Linked DNA regions of Homo sapiens: regions 1 and 2 are each linked to region 3. The links are contacts of gene promoters, found by promoter capture Hi-C in blood cells and fetal thymus (Javierre and others, 2016). All regions are on one chromosome and are shown on one strand. Each heading gives the region's core, a stretch centred on a gene start or on the middle of the fragment in contact. The rest is flanking DNA. Distances are from core to core; before and after follow the strand shown.

Region 1 (2,700 bases), core at 52-2,551, 350 kb before region 3:
AGGACATAAACTCATTCTTTTTTATGGCTGCATAGTATTCCATGGTGTATATGTGCCACATTTTCTTTGTCCAGTCTATCATTGATGGGCATTTGGGTTGGTTCCAAGTCTTTGCCATTGGAAATAGTGCCTCAATAAATATATGTATGCATGTGTCTTTATAGTAGAATGATTTATAATCCTTTGGGTGTATACCCAGTAATGGGATTGCTGGGTCAAATGGTATTTCTGGTTCTAGATCCTTGAGGAATCGCCATATTGTCTTCCACAGTGGTTGAACTAATTTACAGTCCCACCAACAGTGTAACTTTCTCCATTTTTAATGTAGGTATGTGGAGCTATAAATTTCCCTCTAAGCATTGCTTTAGCTATATTGCATAAATTTTTATATGTTGTGTCTTAATTTTCATTCATCTCAAAGTATTTTCTCATTTATTTTGTGATTTCTTCTTCAACCAATTGGTTACTTATGGGTATGTTAATTTCTATATAGTTGTGAGTTTCCAAAAGTTCTTTCTAATTTTATTCTTTGTGGCCAAGGAACAGATTGTGTATAATTTCAGTCCTTTTAAATTATCGAAGCTTGTTTTGTGGCCTAGCATATGGTCTATTCTACAGAATGTTTGATGTGTACTTAAGAAGAATATGTGGGCCAGGCATGTGGCTTGTGCCTATAATCCCAGCACTTTGGGAAGCTGAGGCCCATGTATCACCTGAGCCTGGGAAGTTGAGGCTGCAGTGAGCCATGATCACACCACTGCACTCTAGCCTGGGCAACAGAGTAAGATCCTGTTGAAGAAGAAGAAGAAGGAGAAGGAGAAAGAGAAGAAGGAAGAAGAAGAAGGGGAAGGGGAAGGGGAAGGGGAGGAGGAGGAGAAGTAGGAGGAGGAAGACTTCTGTTGTTGGGTGGATTATTCTATAGATATCCATTAGGCCTAGTTGGTGTATAGCTTTGTTAAAATATTCTATTTTCTTGTTGATCTTATGTCTAGTTGTTCTATCCATTATTGAAAGTGAGGTATTGAAGTTTCTAAATATTGCTGAGCTGCCTATTTATTTATCCCTTCAACTTTGTCAGTTTTTGTTTTATGTATTTTGAGATTCTATTTTTAGGAGCATATTTGTTTATAATTGTGGTATCTTCCTGATATTTTGATACTTTTATTATTATAAAATGTCCCTTTCTATCTGTATTAACATTTTTGTTTTAAAATCCATTTTGTCTAACATTGAAATAGCTACTCCAGGTTTATCTCTTCTTTTTTTAAGAACAATATTTTTTTAACCTTCATTGAACTTTGTAGTGAGGGTAAAAGTAATAGAAACATCAAATGAATACACAGACTAGATAATCTGTAAAAATAACTAGTTCTTTATGTTTACACAGAAGTCTGTCACACAGATTTCAGAATTACATAGCTTAAAGAGTTCTAATTATATAAAAACATTCTTAATTCTGAAATATTTCCAACTTCCTACTCATTTTTCTTAGAAATCTACAGGCAACATTTCATAGTTTTACCAGGTAAAGTTTAATGTCTTTTCATATGATCATCAGGAAGTTTTCTAAACTTCTCACCTGCATTCTTAATTCTTAGTCTGTGTAAGACAGAGTACAAAAACCAGTTCTCCTGGGCATCAGGTATCTCCTGACTTATAAGTAAGGGTCTCTGGCAGGATGCAAACATTTTAGGTCAAGGCCACTTCTTGGAATTTGTTTCAGGTTTAGGTACACTCCTCTAGTCCTTCATTACATTTAATGCCAATCTCTTTGTTTCACATTGCTCATTATCACTTGGAAGAAGCTACCTGTATGCATACCAAAATTTAATTTGTCCCTTCCTCCCACCTTTTGTGAGTTAATTATACTCACTTCTTCGAGTCAACCATGAAAACAAATGCACTTCTTGAGGATTTTAAAGAAATTTGGGTGTGTTGAGAAAGAAAAGACCTTCTAAAACTGCAGGACGTTTTCCTCTTTTTGCAAAGCATGAATTATTCTTCTAGGAATAAAGCTTGCTTTCCTGTGAATGGATTGAAATCTGGAGCTAGCTAACCTTCTTGAGCAGCTGTAATAGTTTTCTAAACTGTGTAACAACTAACATACCTTTATGATGTGACAGTTTCTGTGGGTCAGAAGAATGGACACGGTTCAGCTGTGTCCTTTTCCCCAGGTCTCACAAGACTGCAATCAAGGTGTTGGCTGGTCTGTATTTTACTTGTCAGGCTCAACTTGGGGAGAATCTAGTTCCAGCCTTACTCAGGATGTTGGCAGAATTCATTTCCTGTATGTGTAGAACCAAGGACGTCTGTTTCTTGCTGGGTGTTTGCTGGATGCCAGTCTCAGCACCTGGGCTTCCCACAGCTCCTTGCCACGTGGAAGTCTTCATCATGGTTACATACTTTGTCAAGTCAGCAAGGAGAATCTCTAGCATGAATCTTCCATCATAAAGGAGCCACATGATGTAATGTAATCACAGGAGTAACGTCCCACCACCTCCGCCATATTCCACTGGTTAGAAGCAAGTCACAGATCTCATCTACCTTCAAGTGGAGGTTATTACATAAAGGTGTAAATACCAGAAGGCAGAGCTGATTGGCAATTAATTTAGGGTCTGTCCACTAGTCGTGTTGGAGTACTCCTTAAAAGATATGCCCCAAAGTTACTTTCAGATTTTCTAAAAAGGAAACTGGAACCAG
Region 2 (2,700 bases), core at 31-2,530, 300 kb before region 3:
GGCAGATCCTAAAATGTGTTCTGAAATTTATAAATACTGTAGGGCAATGCTTTCCAAAGTGCATTCTATAGAAATGCAGTTCCCTGTAGTATTAACATGTCTTTAAAAAATATTCAACAGTCACAAATATGATAATAGTCTTTGTGTTCAAGGATTGGGATTGTTGGTAAAAATTTCAAACCTCCCTATCTTTACATAGCATTTAAAAAAATTTTTTTGTTACACTTATGGATAGAAGGAAATAAAAGTATCAGCCAAGGCAGACAGTACCCTTACCTTTCTAAATTCCTGCCCATCCTTAGATCTATAAATGTTTCTCCCATTCCCAGCAGCTGCACCCACCTTAGTTGTGGGAAAGCACCTGCAATCCTTGTCTTTCTTGTTACGCAACATGATGGGGCACAGACCCAGCCCTGGGGTCCTTAACCATGGCACGTGCAGCTTCCCCCGCTAGCAGTAGCATGCTGTCACTCTTAACTCGTCTATGGTTAGCTGGTCCGTGGTGTGGACAGGCAAGGGCTGCTGCCCACCATGCGCACCACAGACCCTAGGCTGTTTCCCAGTGTCAGTTCCTCAAAATCACCCCCAAGGCTCCATGCTGCTCTGAGGACTCCATTAGCTGAGGATTTCATAGGCTGAGTATCTTGCGAGCAAGAGAACAGTATGGACTTCTTGGTCTTGAAAGCTGCTGAATGGTGCTGGGTTGAGTCTGAGGAAGCTGATGCCCCCACATCTCTTGGGGTTTTTATTTGGGGTCTCCAGCTTTGGGATCTTCTGTTGACACTCATGGCACAGATTTGGGCCCATGGCCTTGCCTCCTGCCTGGCCTTGGACCTCATGAATGCGGAAGGCCTGGGGTTCTCCAAGCTCTAGGCAGGAAGCAGATTCCTCTCTGTGCAAAGACCCTCCAGGCCTCGGAATGAGGAAGGAGCCTAAGAGGGAGAGGGTGTGAACCTTCTGGGGCCGACATAGGAAGAAGAGAGGGATGCTGATGTGGGAGGAGAAATAAACCGCTTTCCTGGGTATGAGGGCTAGTAAGCTTACTGGCCCCTGCTGAAGGTCTTCCAGGCCATGCTGCCTTGAACAGGCCACTCACCTCTTGTGCCTGAGCCACTTTTTAAATTCAGTAGGTGTAATTATTGCTACCTGCCATTTCTTGTCAAAATCCTTATAATAACCCTGTATGGGTTATTATGTCCATTTTAGAGATGGAAAAACCAAGGCACAGAGCAGTCAAGTAACTTGGCCACATTTACACGACCAATAATGGGTAGGTGATTTGAGGCTGAGTGTGTTGAACTCCAGAGCCCTTGCCCTCAAATGCTATACACACAAGCTCTCCAGCTTACTCTTCATTTATTTGCTCAAAGGGCCAGTCCTCTTTTAACTTCCAGACCCACGGATCCGTGATTTTCCATAAACGTACCCCCAATCTCTCTCCCACCAACTCACTGCTCATGGTGATCCCAATTTCCCTTATATTAGAGCCAAATATTTTTAGAAAATCTTCAATGAAGCTTGTTATCTAGGAGGAAAACATAGTAACTATAAATGCAATTATCAGTTAGCTGGTGTTTTAGACAAACAAGGAACTGAGGAAGTAAAAGAGGAGACAGATAAGTTTTGAGGAAGTGGAAGAGGTGTCTGGCTGAAATGTCAAGCCCGGAGAAACGGGCAGGGGAGAGGTATTCTAGCCCCTAGTCTCTATCTGGATGTGGGACAAATCTTGGTGTTGCCAATCACACAAGGTTTCCATGAGAATCACATGGAAACATGATTGAGCAGGGGCTGGTAACACAGCTGTGGAAAGGGACTGTGAGAGCCAGCCTGGGATGGGAGCTCGTCTGTGATACCACCTGCTCCCCAGCTCAGGGTGCAGGTGTTACCATCACTGGTCCAGGAGACTCCTCATCCAGTCTCACATGGACAAGAAGATCACAGGGGCCTGAACCAATCGTTATGTACCACAGAACTGACTGTCAGAGAACAATGACCACAGACACTAATACTTTTGCCCAAGGAAGGGTCTGCCCAGTTGTGCTTCATTCCAGCTTCCTGGCATGAGGCACCAGGAAAACAAAATGAATCAAGAGAAGCCAGGAGGCCCTGCAAGGATGCCTGAGTCCAGGCTGCTGCTGAGAATCCCTCTTCTCAGCTGGGCACAACGGCTCAGGCTGATAATCCCAGCACTTTGGGAGGCCAAGGTGAGCAGATCACCTGAGGTCAAGAATTCAAGACCAGCCTGGCTAACCTGGCGAAACCCTGTCTCTACTAAAAAATTAAAATATACTAATAATTAACTGGGCATGGTGGTGGTGCCTGCAGTCCCAGCTACTTGGGAGGCTGAGGTAGGAGAATCGCTTGATACCTGGAGGCGGAGGTTACAGTATGCCGAGATTGCACCACTGCACTCCACCCTGGGCAACAGAGCAAGACTTCATCTCAAAAAAAAAAGAAAAGAAAATCCCTTTTCTCTCTGTGGCTGGAGGTAAAGCAGCATAATTTTGCAGGGCAATTTGGCATATGTATTATTTAATCCATATTTCTTTCATTTATCAGAATATCAAAAACCATTTATGCCTGGTTGAATCCACTTCTGGGAGTCTATCCCAAGGAAACAATCAAAATTACAGAAATACCTGTCTGCATCAAGATGTTCCATGCAGCTTTATTTATGTGCTGGAGAACCGGAAGTCATCT
Region 3 (2,700 bases), core at 155-2,654:
CTGGGAAATGGATGCATGAGTATTTAATACATGCCTCTCTGCAGGTCTCTGAGTTTTAGAAATGCATCGTTGAAAAGGAAAAGCTCACAATTTCTGATGTTAGAGAAAACTGAGTTCAAATTCAAGCTCCATCACTATCACTTCATTCTGTGTCACCTCTGAGTGTTATTTTCCTAATCTGTAGAATGGGTTTCATAAGAGCTACCCTGCAGGGGTGTCTTCGGGTTAAAGGAGGTTACCTAAGTAGAAACAAGGCAGGCAGCAAAATGGGCCATTAGTGGCTGTTTAACCCAGGTCAGATCCTCTTCCTGGCAGTCTTGGGATGCCCTTGGGCTTTGGTTGGTCCAGTCATTCATTCACCAAAGACTTTCTATGTGCTGGGTGCTGGAGATGCAGATGAATCGTAATTACTGCAGGCGATTAAGCGCTTGATAACACCTAAAACCTTGTGTACATTATCTCATCACCTCCACTGCAGCCTGCAAAGCAGATGCTGTCACTATCCCTGGTTTTCCGATGAGGGAACTGAGGCTCTGAGGTCTAACCTGCCAGAGGTCACTGACTGGGCAGGAGCACAGCCAGGGCTGAAACCCAAATCTTCCCCCAGGCCCATGCTCTCCTTCACTGCTGAGCTCCCCTCTGTCCTGCCTGGTAGCATCCCCCAGTCTTGGGGGGCACAGCCCTAGTCAGAACTTTCTAGAATGGGGTCTTGGGGAGGAAGGAAGTGAGTCTTCCTTGGGGACACCCCCCACACTCAAAGCCTCCTTACCCGGGTCGTCCTCGTCGCGGGGCACCTTCTTGAAGCAGTCGTTGAGCGACAGGTTGTGGCGGATGGAGTTCTGCCAGCCGGCCTTGCTCTTGTTGTAGAAGGGGAAGTTGTCGGCCACGTACTGGTAGATCTGGCTGAGAGTGAGGCGCTTGTCGGGTGCCCCGTGGATGGCCATGGCGATGAGAGCCGAGTAGGAATAGGGTGGCCGCACCAGCTTCATCAGCTCCTCCTGCGAGGGGATGGGCAGCCAGCCCAGGTCGCTCCCCCCAAGCCCCGACACGCTGGGCAGCAGCGGCCTCTGCACTCCATAGGCCTGGGGCAGGAAGGGGCTGGCGTTGGGGCCGGGCAGGTAGGGTGGCGGGGTCATGGTGGGCCCGTTGAACCAGAGGTAGGGGTTGGGGGTGGCCCCATACTCGCCGCCCCCCTCGAAGGAGGGCCGCTGAGGGCTGGGCACGCCCTGTGGGTGGAAGAAGTTCTCATAGTAGAGGTTCATCTCGGGGGGCTCCTGGCCGATGCTGGGGAACTGGGGGCTGCAGCGAGGTGGGGAGGGCGCCGGCAGGTCGAAGGAGCTCATGCTGGGGCTGGGCTGGCCGGAGCCACCTGCCTGGCACCTGCACCCCGGAGCTGCCCCTGACAGGTGCTCAGCAGGCCCGGCCTCCCACTTATACCCCTAGGGCTTGGCCGGGCGGCCCCACCCAGGGGCGGCCACCTGCCTGTGGATCCCAGCCCAGGGCCCGCCCTCCCTCAGCCTCCAGCCCACGGGGAGGGGACTTTCCCGCTGGCGCCTCAGGTCCCCACTAATGACATGCTAGACGGCTTACCAGAGCTGACACGCAGCGCAGCGAGAACGCCCCTCTATCCTCTCTCCCGGCTTTCTCTCCTGTCTTTTCTCACCATCCTCATGATTCCCTTCTTCTTTTTCTCCTTTATTCTGTCTTACTTCTCTCATTTTTTTTTCTGTCCTTCCCTTTCGTCACATTTTTCTACCCACCTCGGTTTCCTTCTCTCTCTCCCTCCTCTCCTCTCTGCATCTCATTCTCTGTTTCTTTCCTTCTTATTTTCTTTCCTCCCTTCTGCTCTGAACTGTGTTTCTTTTCTATGAACTGATCTGGCCACATCACAGCTGCTCATTCCCGTTCTCTCTCTCTCTCTCTCTCTCTCCCCCTCCCTCTCTCCCTCTCTCCCTCTGTCTCTAGGCTTCCAGTTCTTCTTTCCACTTCCATCTCTCGCTTCCATTCTCATTGTCTTCCCGGCTTCTCCCCTTTCTCCTTCTCTTTCACTCTGTCCCTTTCTCTCCACCTCTCATTTTCTCTGCGCCTCTCTTCCCATCCCCTCATTCTCCCTCCTCTTCCCCCCAATGTCCCCTCATTCTCTAACCAACTGCCCCAGCCGGGACTGGGTGGGACACTTTATCAGAAACCCTGTTTCTTGGTCTTTTGAGGTGAGGAGGCACTTTCTGGAGTTGCCAGGAGAGAACCGGCCCTGGAGACTCAGAAGAGGGCGCAGAGGGGCCTGGGCTGGCTTCTGGTGGGGTTCAAGGGGGCAACCAGTCATAGGCACCGCAGCCTCCCCCAACACACACATACACGCACACACGCGTACGCGCACACGCACACACGCGCACACGCACACGCGCACGCCCACACACGCGCACACGCCCACGCACGCACGCGCACACACGCACGCACACACACACGCATATGCATACATGCTGCAGACGGGCAGAGAACCTGAGAATTTGCCTGGAGAGCAGCAAGGCTCTTAAAAATAATAGCAAAAGGGGAAAATGGGGAATCAGTCTTCAGGGAAAAGTGAGAGAACTTGAACAATTCAAGTTTCTTTCCAGCTGCAGGGCAAGCAGGCTCCCAGCTCCTCTCTGATCCAAAGACCTTTCATGTTTCAGCTCGCAGAGGCCCCTGGCATGGAGGCAG

Evidence for each region. Contacts are between HindIII fragments. The CHiCAGO score rates a contact against its expected background, and 5 or more counts as called.
Region 1: a contact is called between a fragment that was not itself captured here and the fragment with the promoter of FOXI1 in region 3, in 1 of 17 cell types (total CD8 T cells). The highest score is 5.7, in total CD8 T cells.
Region 2: a fragment that was not itself captured here is called in contact with the fragment with the promoter of FOXI1 in region 3 in 9 of 17 cell types (naive CD8 T cells, monocytes, non-activated CD4 T cells and 6 more); the score reaches 8.6 in naive CD8 T cells.

The regions. Positions count from the first base shown.
Region 1 is chr5:170,453,454-170,456,153 of GRCh38, reverse strand. It overlaps a transcript of KCNIP1 not described here. Among named protein-coding and RNA genes, the nearest start is that of KCNIP1, 49 kb to the left of the region's middle. The HindIII fragment of the contact is 1,433 bases long and covers 585-2,017 here.
Region 2 is chr5:170,404,957-170,407,656 of GRCh38, reverse strand. All of the region lies in intron 1 of KCNIP1-OT1 (KCNIP1 overlapping transcript 1), which reads right to left. It also overlaps a transcript of KCNIP1 not described here. Among named protein-coding and RNA genes, the nearest start is that of KCNIP1-OT1, 17 kb to the right of the region's middle. The HindIII fragment of the contact is 478 bases long and covers 1,042-1,519 here.
Region 3 is chr5:170,104,601-170,107,300 of GRCh38, reverse strand. It overlaps FOXI1 (forkhead box I1), which reads right to left and starts at 1,404. Exons shown (of 2, transcript NM_012188.5): 1 at 770-1,404. The coding sequence starts at 1,343. The HindIII fragment of the contact is 5,348 bases long and covers 1-2,700 here.